Regions from separate parts of the Homo sapiens genome. Here all the other regions are linked to region 1. Evidence: promoter capture Hi-C in 16 types of primary human blood cells and fetal thymus (Javierre and others, 2016). All regions are on one chromosome and are shown on one strand. Each heading gives the region's core, a stretch centred on a gene start or on the middle of the fragment in contact. The rest is flanking DNA. Distances are from core to core; before and after follow the strand shown. Region 1 holds the start of PPP1R3C (protein phosphatase 1 regulatory subunit 3C). Region 2 overlaps HECTD2 (HECT domain E3 ubiquitin protein ligase 2). Region 3 overlaps HECTD2-AS1 (HECTD2 antisense RNA 1). Region 4 overlaps HECTD2 (HECT domain E3 ubiquitin protein ligase 2). Region 5 overlaps HECTD2-AS1 (HECTD2 antisense RNA 1).

Region 1 (2,700 bases), core at 114-2,613:
GAACACAGGCACTGGGCATCGTGCTGAGTCTGTTCATTGGCACCATCTTACTTCATCTTCAGAACGTTACTATCTCTGTTTTACACATGAGGAAACTGAGGTTAGAACTTGCCTAGATTCGTGTAGCTAGTAAGTGTCAATCCAAAGACCTTCCAGCTAGTTTTGGTTGAGCTAAAGGGGCTAGAAGACCTGCCATTAGTTAGATATTTCATTTCAAAAATAAAACCCAGGCATGAAGTCCCTTTCCCAGTGATATTCAGTGTGATTTTTTTCTTCACTCTAATAATTTTAACAATTCCACTGTTTGACAGTTGTTTAAAAGACATAGGAATTTTTGTATATTTTAATTGACTAATGGATAGCTCAATTAGGGGAGCAAAACTAGGATGTGGGTTTTATAAAAATAATTTAGACTTGACTTAGACATTTAATTTTACAGTTGTAAATGATGGTCTAAAAATTCTTCAAACTAATCAAAATAATGAAACTTCAGCGAAAGTGAGTGGCTCAGAAGGCCCATGAAACATACGGCGTGATTTTTTAAATTTTATTTTAACATTTTGATTTCCACACCACTGCCAAAGGACGTCAGAATTGAGTAAGGGGTTTGGGTTGACTGCTGCCTCTTGACCGGCTGTATGTGTGAAAAGGGTCATTTCACTTCCGGCTTTAGTGTTCCCCGCAGGGGAGAAAATTGAAGAATAGACAGAAATACGAAGTGTCTTTTAATTAAATGCCACCTTGGTGTTTTATGGGGCTCGTATGCTTTCCTAACAACATTTGTTAGATAAGTTGGTAATTCCCGGCAGCTGTCTACTGTGTGGTGCATCTGTGAACTCATACTAATCGAAAAGCATGCAGCCAGTTTGGGATCGCGCAGGCTAAGGTGAGGGAGAAATGCGGATACACCGGGTAATGAACGATATAAACATTTCAAATGCGATACACATTCGGTTTGAGCCACATCTTCTGTGTGCAGATTCACCCGCAGTGACCCACAAAGCTATTCCCAAGTAACAGCCGCCCCAAGCCTGAGGCACTGGCGCCCCGCCTGGGCGAGGCTGGCTGCGCTCTCTCTTGGCCGGCGCCCGCTGCATGCGGTACGTGCCTGCCCGGCCCCTAGCCCAGGGTTCCCGTTACGCGGCTGGTTCCAGCTGGCCGCGGAGTCCCAGAACCTCCCCGCGATGCCCAGATAGCTCTCTGCACGTCTCGCCCCGGGGCGATCACGTTGCCGGGGCGAGGGCTGGCGCCCCAGCTGGGCGCTGGTTGGTCGCGCCCTGGGGCTCGAGGCCCGGCGATTGGTCCCAGGGATCGGGTCACGTGCTTGGGAGCAGATAAGCGGCCTCTAGGCGCCGGGCCCTCAGTCTCTCCCAGCGACCGCCGCGGGGGCAAGGCCTGGAGCTGTGGTTCGAATTTGTGCAGGCAGCGGGTGCTGGCTTTTAGGGTCCGCCGCCTCTCTGCCTAATGAGCTGCACCAGGTAGGTTCGCTGCAACTCTGCGCGCTAGGAACACAGGGGAACGCGCAGCTGTGGGGAAGTTGGGGGGCGTTTCAGTTCTATCATCTCTGGAAATGGACACCCCAGGGGGAGGACAAGTGGACTGACTGCGTAGTTGAATCTGGCAACCGAGAGGCCTTGGAGGTGTAGAAATTTGGCTCTATTTCTTAAGCAGAGCCTATTTTAGTAATCAGCATCTTAAAGCAGAAATTATCTTAACGTGAATCAGCTTGAGTTAGGATTTTCTCATGGATGCGGCTGTTCTTTTGGTCCTGCACAAATGTCCCAAAGACTCGGGCAGCTGAAGTGGTGAGAACAGCACTCTGACATTGCTGGTTAGGTGGTTTAGCTTGGAGGAAAAAAATTACAGGACGACGTTTGCATTCATTCGTCCTTCTTATCACAGTTTGCCATAGCAAAATCTCAAGAGTTTGAGCAAACGATTACTTTTAACTCTTGTCCAGGACTTAAAGTTCCAAGGAAATCACCCAAACTAAAACTGTCTTTCTATAAATGCAAAAAGTAAAAAAAAAAAAACAAAAAAACCAAAAAAAACCTCCCATAAAACTACTTTAAATAGCTTCTCCAGACATAGCTTAGCAGAAGACTTCTCTAAAAATCCTGCCTATTAACTATTATTAGACCCACAAATATAGCTTTAGCTTTCATTTGTTTGTTCTAAGTTTGCAGATCTCCCAGAAAAACCCCAGAGCTAACACAGTAAATTCTGCGAGTGTTATTACACACTTTTGTGATAATGACCACTTGCATACATGTTTAGAGCTGCTGTGAGGAGAGTTACTAAAGCCAGACTGAGAAATGTCGTGTACAGTATACACACACCTCTTACTTGTAAGGCTAAGATAGGGAAAAAAATCTTAATACCATAAGCTTGGAAATATATGATGAGGGCTAAAGGTCAGAGAAAAGTCTTCTTTATAGATGCTTCTTGGTTTAATATTGCTGAGCATAGTCATGTTTAAAACTTTAAATGGTTTTATTGTCTTTCTACTTATAAATGTCTATTAGAAAATGCCAAAAAAGAACAAAAACGAAAATAGATAATCTATAATCCTATCACCCAGAAATAATAATTATTAAATTATTAGGAAAGGTGTATTTCCTATAGAGTTTTTCAATATTTATAAGTTTGTATATATAAAATGTATATTTTAAAACACTCCAACTTTCAGGTAATCAGTTT
Region 2 (2,700 bases), core at 176-2,675, 140 kb after region 1:
TTTTGTTTTTAGTTCTACTTTTAAAAAGTAGAAAATATTTTCTATTTTAAAAGCTTATCTACTAAAATATTTATTAATTATTTGTTAACATGATAGTACTACAAAAGCTAACCGAAAGCTTGATTTAAAGTTATAAACTCACCATTAGGGCATTTGAAGCACACACACTATGAAATCCATAATAAAATGCAGCAAACTGCTTATAGATGGATTTGTTCAGAAGGAAGTCAGTATAAAGCTGTACATATTCTGAAAAGCAATTTTACATCTCTTAAATAGTAAAAGTAAATGGCAAATACTAATTCATTTTAATTAAAAAGGGTATTAACTTACCTTTTCTATTTTGATTGGTAACTGAAATTTTATCACCACCGGGCTTTAAATTATAGGACTTGATTATTCCAAATTCTTCTTGAAAAACCTGATGGGAGATGCCATTACACATATTAATATGGTTGATATAATAACATACTTTGGTGAACAGGTTTGTAAAATTTAAAAAACAGTTTTTTTCCCCCTTCCTTCTAAACACATAAACTATAAAAGGCTAAGCTCTTGCAATATTTGTATTAAGAACGAGGGATCATAAAAGAATTATGGAGTTAAAAAATAGTGCCTTAACTTAACCCTGCCTAATACAGTTAAATACTTTAATGAAGTCCACAAAACTGTGTGGACATCTAGATAATACACAGCGGGTCCCTGGAGCTCTGCAGATCACTGTAATGTCCATTTCCCAAATACTGTAAAAGGAGTGGAAATCAGAGAGTTTTGGTCTGACTCATTAGTTTCTACTCCTAGCTTCTAATGTTGAAGTTACAGGAGAGGCTTATTTTTAGAAACTAAAAAGCTCTGAGAAAGTAACCAACTCAAGGGGATATGTAATTGCCTAGAGAGTACTCTGAACCCTTAGTGAATTTCATTAAGCACTTTCATTGACTGCTCATCTACACATGTCTACTTTATCAGGTTAAGGTCCTTTAAGACAGAGGATTGTATGTATTGGTTAATCCTTGTTCATCTTTTCTAACAGTGGGTATTTAATAACAAATTGCACTGTTCATATATGAAATATATGATTAACAGATAACTACTTGCCCTTAATAGTACCTGAAATGTTGAATAGAAATCTTCTTCAACATTGCCTTCATGTGATAAGAGTTCACTTAATCCATGGGCCAACTCCTATAAAAAGAAATCTGTTAATGATTTTTTCAATAGAATAGCATTAGCTAGGATAATGAAGTGGCTTTTCTATAGCTCATGCATATGTATATAAAGATCATATTTGACATGTATTTTCCAGGGCACAAAATGGTTAATGATTTCTACCATCCAGAGGCTAAGAAAAAAATCATTATAGGTCATAGATGGGGAAACTATCCAGTTCAAACTACAGGGGCATAACTCTGGGGTCTACTCTTAAGCAGCAAGCTAAGCATACCTCTAATGTAGTGTCTGTCATAATTCACTGCTATCTGCCACATTACTGTTTATGAATTTGTAGTATTTCTCACTTTCAATTTATATTCCTATGAAAATCTGCTAATGTTTTTGGATTCATATTTTAAACATAAAACACACAGTTCATTCATGTGCATTCATGAATATACAGTTCATACATGCACAGTGCCCTCCCCTCCCAAGAAAAAGTTAAGTATACTGAAAGAAACATTTTCTGGTTAGCCGGGCACGGTGGCTCATGCCTGTAATCCCAGCACTCTGGGAGGCCGAGGTGGGCAGATCACAAGGTCAGGAGTTCAAGACCAGCCTGGCCAACATGGTGAAACCCTGTCTCTACTAAAAATCCAAAAAAAAAAAAAAAAAAAAAAAAAATAGCCAGGTGTGGTGGCTCACACCTGTAATCCCAGCTATTCGGGAGGCTGAGGCAGGAGAATTGCTCGGACCTGGGAGGTGGAGGTTGCAGTGAGCTGAGATTGTTCCACTGCATTCTAGCCTGGACAACAGAGCAAGACTGTCTTGGGCAGAAAAAAAAAAAAAAAAAGAAACATTTTCTGGCTGGGCTCAGTGGCTCATGCCTGTAATCCCAGCACTTTGGGAGGCTGAGGCAGGCGGATCACTTGAGGCCATGAGTTCGAGACCAGCCTGGCCAACATGGCAAAACCCCGTCTCTGCTAAAAAAAAAAAAAAAAAAAAAAAAAAAAATTTGCCGGGCACGGTGGCACATGCCTAAAATCCCAGATACTCAGGAGGCTGAGGCACGAGAATCACTTGAACCCAGGAGGCGGAGGTTGCAGTGAGCCAAGGTGGAGCCACTGCACTCCAGCCTGGGTGACAGAGTGAGATTCTGTCTCAAAAAAAAAAAAGAAAGATTTTCTTACATTATATTATAATTGAAATTATCCATAAATAAAGATTTAAAAATAGAAAAATTGATCCAATATTTCAAAATTTTCAATTTAATTTTTATGAAAAAATTAAAGTTTTATTTTAAATTATTAGAAAAAGGTAAATAATAGCATGATTAGAATGATTTTCTATATTTTACATAATAAATGTTCTATTCCTTTAAAACCACAAATTTTCATACAAATCTAGGCTGGCACAGATTTGATATAATTGTCATCATTTAAAAATTATTAATAAAAACTATCCCATTGTTCACATAAAGAAACTAAATTGAAGGGTTAAATAACTTGTCCAAATTCACAGAGCTAGTAAGTGACAGAGCCTGGATTC
Region 3 (2,700 bases), core at 61-2,560, 240 kb after region 1:
TTTGGTCTGTAGTGTTGTTCAAGCCCTCTGTTTCCTTAGTGATTTTCTGTACAGATGATCTATGCATTGTTGAAAGTGGGGTACTGAAATAATCTACTATTATCAAATTGTTATATGTTTCTTCCTTCAGGTGTATTAATATTTTGCTTTATTTACATTTAGATGCTCTGATGCTAAGCACTTATATATAATTGTTATATTCTCTTGATGAATTGACTCCTTTTTCATTATATAATGACCTTGTTTGTCTTGTTACAGTTTTTGACCTATAGTTTATTTTGTCAGACATAAGTATAGCTACCCTGGCTCCCTTTAAGTTACTATTTGCGTGGTATATCTTTTTCCAGCTCTTCACTTTCAGTATATGTGTTGTCCATAAACCTAATGTGAGTCTATTGTGGGCAGCATATAGTTGGATCTTGTGTTTGTTTTATAAAATTATTCATTCAGCCATCTATGTCTTTTGGTTGGAGAATTTAATCCATTTAAAATTAAAGAGTTATTGATAGATAAGGACTTACTACAGGTTGAGTATCCCTAATCTGAAAATTCAAGATCCAGAATACTCCAAAACTTGAAACTTTTTGAAGGATGACATGATGCTCCAAGGAAATGCTCAGTGGAGCATTTTGGATTTGGGATTTTCAAATTAAAGATTCTGAGCTGGTATGTATAATGCAAATATTCTAAAATCCAAAAAAAAAAAAAGTCTAAAGTACCTCTAGTCCCAAGAATTTCACATAAGGAATACTCAACCTATACTGCCATTTCATGAATTCTTTTCTGTTTTTTAGTTCCTTTGTTTTTTTTCATTCTCTCTTGCTGTCTCGTTTTGTGATTTGATGGTTTTGTATAGTGATGTGCTTTAATATCTTTCTCTTTTGTGCAACTACTACAGGTTTTTTTCCTTGTGATTACCATGAAGCTTGCACAAGACATCTTATAGTTATAACAGTCTACTTTAAGCCAGCAAGAGCTTAACTTTGCATGCAAAAACTCTACACTTTCTCTCTCCCCTGCTCATAATTTGTTATTGATGCCACAATTTACATCTTTTTTACATTGTATGTCTATTAGAAAATTATTGTAGCTATAGTTATTTTTAATACTTTTGTCCTTTGACTTTTATACTAGAGTTAAAAGTGATATACACACCACCCCATTACAGTATTACAGTATTCCGAATTTGACTATATTATTATCTTTACAATGAATTTTTTACTTTTGTATATTTTAATGTTACTAATGAACATCCTTTCATTTCTGCTTGAAGATTTTCTTTAGCATCGCTTATAAGGCAAGTGTAGTAGGAAGAAAATCCCTCAGCTTTTGTTTGTCTTTATCTCTCCTTCATTTCTGAAGGACAGCTTTGCCAGGTGTAGTATTTCCGGTTGGAAATCTTACTCATCTTATTCTTTCAGTACTTAGCAATATGATCTCACTCTCTTCTGGCATATGAGGTCTTTGCTGAGAAATCCACTATTAGCCTGATCCACTGAAATCCCTTTTATGTGACAAATTGCTTTTCTTTTGCTGCTTTCAAAATTCTTTGATTCTTGACAGTTTGATTATAAGGTGTCTCAATGAATATCTCTTTATGTTTAATCTATTTAAAGTTCTTTGGGCTTTGTAAAGCTGGAGGTTCATTTCATCCACATATTTGGGAAGTCTTCTGTCATTATTTCTTTAAGCTTTCTTCTCTCTTTCTCTGCTTCTATTTGAGTCTCTCATAGTGCATATATTGGTTTGCTTGATGGTGTCCCATAAGTCCTGTAGACTCTTTTCATTCTTTTGTTGTTGTTGTTCCTCTGACTGGATAATTGCAAGTAGCCTGTTGTTGAGCTCACTGATTCTTTCTTATGCTTGATTTTGCCAGCTTGTTGAAACTTTCTATAGAATTTTTCAATTGGATAATGTTTCTCAGCTCCAGATTTTCTGTTGGGTTTATTTTGGTGTGGCTTCAATCTCTTTGTTGAACTTCTAATTTTGTTCATGAATTGTTTTCCTGATTTTGTTTCGTTATCTATCTGCATTCTTTTGCAGCTCACTGAGCCTCTTTAAGACAATTATTTTGAATTAATTGTCAGGCAGTTTGTAGATTTCTATTTGTTTAGGATCAGTAACTGATACTTTATTTTGTTCCTTTAGTGTTGTATGTTTTCTTGATCTTTTTGGCCTTGCTTTGGTGTCTGGCATTTGAAGAAGTAGGCATGTCTTTCAGTCTTTACAGACTGGCTTCAGCAAGGAAAGTACTTCACCAGTCAGCCCATCCACAGATTCTGGGTGGGCTGACTGAAAGGGTCTATTGGTGGGCTTCATACTAGAGTCCCTGAGTGGTCTGAACTGGTGACGCTTTCCATGGGTGGATGGGCCTGGTGCCTCAATCCATGGAGACTGGCCTGGTACTGGTACTAGAGTCTACTGGAGTGAACCTAGTGACTAGATCTGGGAGGATGGGCCTAGAGCTTGGGTCCAGGAGGGCAGGCCTGGAGTCTAGGCTTGTAGGGGCTGGCCTGAAGCCTATGTTAATGGGGGCTGAACTGGCACTGAGGCAGGCCTTGATTCTGAGTCTGTAGAGGCTGGCCTGTGGCTGGGGTGGGCTTGGAGCCTGGGTCCTCAGAGTCTCAGGGGGCCAGTGTAGCCCTAGTGTACACTGAGGCAGGCCTGGTGCTGGGGTTTGCAGTGACATTTGATGCTCAT
Region 4 (2,762 bases), core at 154-2,653, 150 kb after region 1:
CTTCCACTAAGGTAGCTATCTGTCGTAGCAAGTGAGCATAGATGACATACGTAGATGTGTTATTAAACTGAGGATTCTGAAAAAGATATTAAAGATAATTGTGTTAAAATTCTGTTAACACGTAAAAGGAAAGACACTAAGCTTAATAAGTACGTGGTAAATTCAGGAAACAAAATTTGAGATTATAAAATAACAATAACCTATTTGTTATTTAATTAACAGAGACTTTCATTTACACTGCGGCTATACAGTGAAAAGAGCATGGGCTTTGGAGTTAAGACAGATCTGGGTCTGAGGGCTAATTCTACCACTTACTAGCTATATGCCCTTAGGCATGTTCCTTACACTTTGATTCTCAATGTCCTTATCTGTAAAATGGGAATGATATTCTCTATCTTAAGGGTTGTTTTGAGTATCGAAAAAGAAAATGTATATAAAGCACCTTCATAAAAAGTGCCTTCATAAATGGTACCAATCACTATCATCCAATTAAAAGCAAAAAACCTGGGTGTTCCTTGATTAAAAGCTAGAAAAACGAAGTAAAAGCTGGTTGTGAAACTTTTGCCATTGTAAAATGAGTTAGCCTCATATATCACAAAGAACAAGGGGAGAAACACATACAGCTTCTGACAACTTTTAAATGATAAAGGGACGCTGAAGGAATACTTGTAAACTAAGAAAAGCCTTTAGTTAATGTTTCCAAAATATAAAATTCTAGCACAATGTACATTTCAGCACATCATGGAAAAAATAAATATTATTGAAAAAAACCTCCTGAAATTGTGAAAAATAAGAGAGCACCATGTGTTTTTCAAAACTGACTTATTGACAGAACAACTCAAAATCTGGGACTGACCTCAGCTGATAACTTCATCTGGTAATGGCTCTTGAGAAGAACAAAATATGAGCAGAGCTTATGGCTGACCAATATACTCACCTAAAATCTGAGCTTCGTGTCATCTTTCTAGCTTTTACTATCTCTACATATGTTTATTCTTGAGTTTTGGCTCTTTCTCCTCTTACTTCTCTATTTTCCCTCCTTACATTTCTCTTCTTAACTACCTCTTGGTCATTTTCCCCCCTTTTCCACTTTTTCCTCTTTCCTCACTTTCTCTATCCCTACCCTGTATATGTTCTTTCATTAGACATATTGATATTATAATATCATAATATTGTACTAAACACTATACTTATTTAATATAGTTTTCCTTACTTTTAAATGAGATAATATACATGGACAACTTTTATAAATTGTAAAGAATAATGCAAATGTATTAATAGTATGCTAGCTATGGTAATAATGTATTTCTTCCTCAAAAAATAATAAAAAGTAAAAATTGCTTTTCATTTGTCTGGATCTTAATTTCTTTTTGTATCTATTAATCTGTATCTATCAAGAGGAAAAAGTTCATTATCTTCGCTTTATAACAAATTAAAAAAAAACCTTTTATCTTTCCATAAGAATTCTAATTGAAGTTATTGAAAAATACATAGTGAAGTGAAAACCTACTAGATGGGAAAATAAAAGAAAATCCTGAAGCCTGTTAAAACTAGTTACAAGAAACAGGTTTGAATGGAGGAGGAAGAAGTGCTTCCATTCTGTTTGTTCCTGAATACTCTGGCAGGAACTAAATCAAAATTTTAATCTCACATGTAATTTAGCTTCTGATTATTTATTTGTTATGGCTTTAATCTTATTTTTCTTACTTTTTAAAATCTTACTTATCTTTTAATCTTATTAATCCTACTTTAAAAAAAATCTTCTGGTTACAGGTAACTATAATTCTAAAAAGAATCAATAATGTTGCCCAAAATGATATTTAATATTTAATATCATTTCACATACACATGTAGGGATTGAGATCTGACTTAGACAACTTCAACTAGGTTCTGGTTCTCTTACCTGTAAAAGTATAAAATATGCTCTAAGATCATCTTTTGTTCGTGGACTGAAAAAGAAACAAGAATAATTTATTATGGATGAATGTTTAATCTCATAGCATCTAACGAAAAAGACCAATAAACTTTTCTATGAAGACTGAGTTGAGAAAAGCCAAAAACTAGGATTAATATGCATTATTATTGAGACAGTCCATAATATGCTGAAAATACAAGTGCTTCTGTGCCTCTCCTAGGCTGATTCTGAAGATAACTAAAGACTGAGCTAACTAGGCTATAACATTTTGTGAGGTAAATATGATTAACTCTGGAAGTAGTTAGGTGTGTAATAAAATCATCAATTTTAGAATACTTATGTTTTTGTTTTAATAAAGGATAATCTTTACTTAAGAACATTTATGTATTAAAGAAAGAAAATATGCTTGTGTTTCTAGGTTCATTCCTAAAGTGATGTAGAAATGTCTGTAAATCAAATCATACTTTAAATACATCCAGTATGCTTCTAACAGAAAGAATCATGAAAAGTAAGTAATTTTTTCCATCTTAATATGAATTCTCATAGTATGAGATTTGGCCAAGAGCTTTTGTTATTCTCAAGGCTAATGAGTGTTTCTTGCCTGCTCAAGATCTATTTGGTACATTCTCACAGATATCTGGAAGTAACTTCTTCAATTGAAAATGGTTCACCTCTATGACAACCAGATGCAATTCATGATTCCTAACTGGGTCCTGGATTGAAAAACAAAACCCAGATATTAAAGCTTTTGTCATTCTCTATGCTGACAAGTGTTTCTTTCTTGCCTGCTCAAGATCTATTTGTATATATCACCTATTCCTCCAAGTCCTTTCCTATCCTACCTAGA
Region 5 (2,700 bases), core at 126-2,625, 250 kb after region 1:
AGGGCCTGAACGCAGATAAGAGTCTGAGATGAGATCAGTTCAGGTGGAGCTGGTTATTGAGATCCATTGAGATCTGGGAAGGGGAGCCTGGATCTGACTGCCCTAGTAGGACTCGGAGCCAACCAGTGAGATGATGAAAGTGTTTCATGAAGATCACTTTAGTAGGGAGAGGGAAGACCCAACACAAAAATCAGAGCCTCTCCATAGCTGGAATGTGAGATAATGAGGGTTAGAATGATGACTGTGACAAGAGAAATTGGCAGAACATGATGACAAATTTGATAGTGAGAATAAAGGAGAGGATTAAATAATAGGTTACAAAAGAAAAGAAGCTGTGTGGGGCTGTCTCTAATCTATTGAGGTGAATATCTTGAAGGGCAACCTGACAGACACTGCCACTGTTAAGAGCCCAAGTCTGCCTGGGAAGAAAGATGGGTCTAATCTAGTGTGCCTTTTCTTCTGTTCTTTAACTTGAATGTGATGCAGTATGAATGCTGAGGCATGTGGCTCAGGCAATTCACAGAGGTTTCGCCCGAGAAGCCAGCTGGCTGCCAACACACAGTACAGAGTGACATTCATTTGTGGTGAATTGGACACAGCGATGGGTCTGGCTTTAACCCTGTTGGCAAGATGAGTTTTTCTCTCTCCCCCATTTCCTTTCCCAGGACCACGGCACACACCCAACTGCCCTCTGGGGTCAGGCGTGCACTAAGTGAGGATAACAGAAAGGGGTCTTTTTGTCATGCCAGACCAAAAGAGCTGTAAACTGTCTGTAGCTCTATCACAGGGGGCTGGTGGGGGGTGGTGGGGGAAGAAAAGAAAAAAAGATGGAGTGGCATGATTGACAACAACTTCAAGCCAAGGAGGGGAAGAGATAAGATCAGAGACTGGGAACAGAGCGGTTTAATAGGCTGAGAGGTGGTAGGGAACAAGGAGCATTTGATAAATGAGAGCGGCTCCCCAGGGCACTGGGAGAGCGGGGACGGTGTGGGTGGCCCTGGAAATTGCAGACAAAGGCCAGGCAGGGGTGGAGCTCTAGGGAGGGTAGACACTGTTGGGATCAGAGCAGGAAGTTACTGTTCTGAACATTCTTCTGTATGTGAGACTGATCAGCTCCACTTTCATTTGCACCGTGAGAAACTGCTTTTCAGGAGAGACCTGTAGTAACCAAAGCCACAGAAATAAAAATGTAAGCGTAATGCCAATGTATTGATTTTGTAATGAGAAAGAGCTGTCAACAGAGCAGAGTGCTCATGTCAGCAGATCTGTCAATTATCTCCCTGCAGGCAAGCCACAAGGGATGCCAAATTATGGCCAGAAGGTTGTAGATAAGCTCAGAACCAGAACAAGGGTAGCAGCTACATAATTCACGGCAGGGATGCAACCTGCACAGAGATCAGCTATCTTCTGGACAGTATTTAGGTGACCCCAGCAACTTTTGCAACTTTAAATTTTCCCTTTTTATTGTCTAGGCCACTGAAAACAACCTGCATCTAAATTTACTGGGGAATTTAAATATTCAGATTCCAAGGTATCATTCCAAACTTTTCAGAATCAAAATCTCAAGGGAGAAGCCCTAGAATCTACATTTTTCATAAACTTTACAGAATTTATGAAGGCTAACTGTAGTTCTAGGCTAACCATTCACTTTCTTTTCAGTCTTTTCTCAAGTGGAGTACATTTGATTCATGAGTTTTGTCCAGTTGAACTAACTCTATGAGGTCTGGGGAGATAATAGCGCATTCCTTCTTCTCTTTGGTTCTAATCCATTAAATGATAAATACTAAAAGGTAAATGAGAATCTAAGTGTCAGTTGTTGGTTTGTTTGTTTGTCCGTTTAGTGTTTTGGTTGAGATGGGGTCTTACTATGTTGCCCAGGCTGGTCTTGAACTCCTGGGCTCAAGGTCTTCTCCAGCCTCAGCCTTATCAAAGTACTGGGATTACAGGTGTGAGCCATTGTGCCTGGCCTAAGTGTCAGTTTTATTTAGTAGTCACTGGTCATGCTTAGATTGACAAATGGGCTGAGGCCTCTCAGCTCTCTGTTAGGAGTTAGATCTTGGGGCTTTTGCAGGCCTGAAGCTGGAGAATGGTAGAGAGGCCCTGCCAGGGGGGATTTTTTGCACAGAGAGTGGAGATAGGGCCAGTTACCTACGCATAGGTCCAGAGGAAGTGAGAGATAAAATGCCAAAGCTATGGTGGAATGTGGAAACACTGCCTTGTAGACAGGTGTGACCTTGTGACTTCCTCTTCCTTGTTTGCTGTCCCCAAGAGGGGCCAGTGCTGATAGAGTTCCCCTATAGAATCCCATGGAAATTCTACTTCCTGGAGCTACTCTAAATTGGATTCCACTTGACTTCTCCATTAATTTTAGACCTTACATAGTTTGGATATTTGTCCCTGCCACAATCTCATGTTGAGCTGTAATCCCCAGTGCTGGAATTGGGGCCTAGTAGGAGATGTTTGGATCATGGGTTGTGGATCCCTCATGGTTTGGTGCGGTCTTCATGATAGCAACTGAGTTCTCATGCGATATGGTCATTTAAAGGTTTTGGCACCTCTCCCCCTCCTCTCACTTGCCCCTGCTTTCACCATGTGAATTTCCTGCCTGTGCTTTGCCTTCTGCCGTGATGAAAAGCTCTCTGAGGCTTCACCAGAAGTTGAGCAAATGCCAGCACCATGCTTCCTGTAAAGCCTGCAGAA

Evidence for each region. Contacts are between HindIII fragments. The CHiCAGO score rates a contact against its expected background, and 5 or more counts as called.
Region 2: a contact is called between a fragment that was not itself captured here and the fragment with the promoter of PPP1R3C in region 1, in 4 of 17 cell types (M2 macrophages, endothelial precursors, M0 macrophages and 1 more). The highest score is 12.5, in M2 macrophages.
Region 3: a fragment that was not itself captured here is called in contact with the fragment with the promoter of PPP1R3C in region 1 in 5 of 17 cell types (endothelial precursors, naive CD8 T cells, M0 macrophages and 2 more); the score reaches 7.6 in endothelial precursors.
Region 4: a contact is called between a fragment that was not itself captured here and the fragment with the promoter of PPP1R3C in region 1, in 1 of 17 cell types (M2 macrophages). The highest score is 5.0, in M2 macrophages.
Region 5: a contact is called between a fragment that was not itself captured here and the fragment with the promoter of PPP1R3C in region 1, in 11 of 17 cell types (endothelial precursors, activated CD4 T cells, M1 macrophages and 8 more). The highest score is 8.9, in endothelial precursors.

The regions. Positions count from the first base shown.
Region 1 is chr10:91,631,734-91,634,433 of GRCh38, reverse strand. It overlaps PPP1R3C (protein phosphatase 1 regulatory subunit 3C), which reads left to right and starts at 1,363. Exons shown (of 2, transcript NM_005398.7): 1 at 1,363-1,478. The coding sequence starts at 1,465. RefSeq lists enhancers at 731-1,230, 1,231-1,732 and a silencer at 1,257-1,396. The HindIII fragment of the contact is 3,050 bases long and covers 1-2,389 here.
Region 2 is chr10:91,496,593-91,499,292 of GRCh38, reverse strand. HECTD2 (HECT domain E3 ubiquitin protein ligase 2) reads right to left here. Exons shown (of 21, transcript NM_182765.6): 16 at 1,111-1,185; 17 at 334-421; 18 at 143-249. All of the region lies in intron 3 of HECTD2-AS1 (HECTD2 antisense RNA 1), which reads left to right. Among named protein-coding and RNA genes, the nearest start is that of HECTD2, 88 kb to the right of the region's middle. The HindIII fragment of the contact is 2,610 bases long and covers 121-2,700 here.
Region 3 is chr10:91,395,948-91,398,647 of GRCh38, reverse strand. The region is part of intron 3 of HECTD2-AS1 (HECTD2 antisense RNA 1); the gene reads left to right. Among named protein-coding and RNA genes, the nearest start is that of HECTD2, 13 kb to the left of the region's middle. The HindIII fragment of the contact is 766 bases long and covers 928-1,693 here.
Region 4 is chr10:91,480,281-91,483,042 of GRCh38, reverse strand. HECTD2 (HECT domain E3 ubiquitin protein ligase 2) reads right to left here. Exons shown (of 21, transcript NM_182765.6): 7 at 1,904-1,949; 8 at 1-76. All of the region lies in intron 3 of HECTD2-AS1 (HECTD2 antisense RNA 1), which reads left to right. Among named protein-coding and RNA genes, the nearest start is that of HECTD2, 71 kb to the right of the region's middle. The HindIII fragment of the contact is 2,519 bases long and covers 144-2,662 here.
Region 5 is chr10:91,379,663-91,382,362 of GRCh38, reverse strand. The region is part of intron 3 of HECTD2-AS1 (HECTD2 antisense RNA 1); the gene reads left to right. Among named protein-coding and RNA genes, the nearest start is that of HECTD2, 29 kb to the left of the region's middle. The HindIII fragment of the contact is 5,140 bases long and covers 1-2,700 here.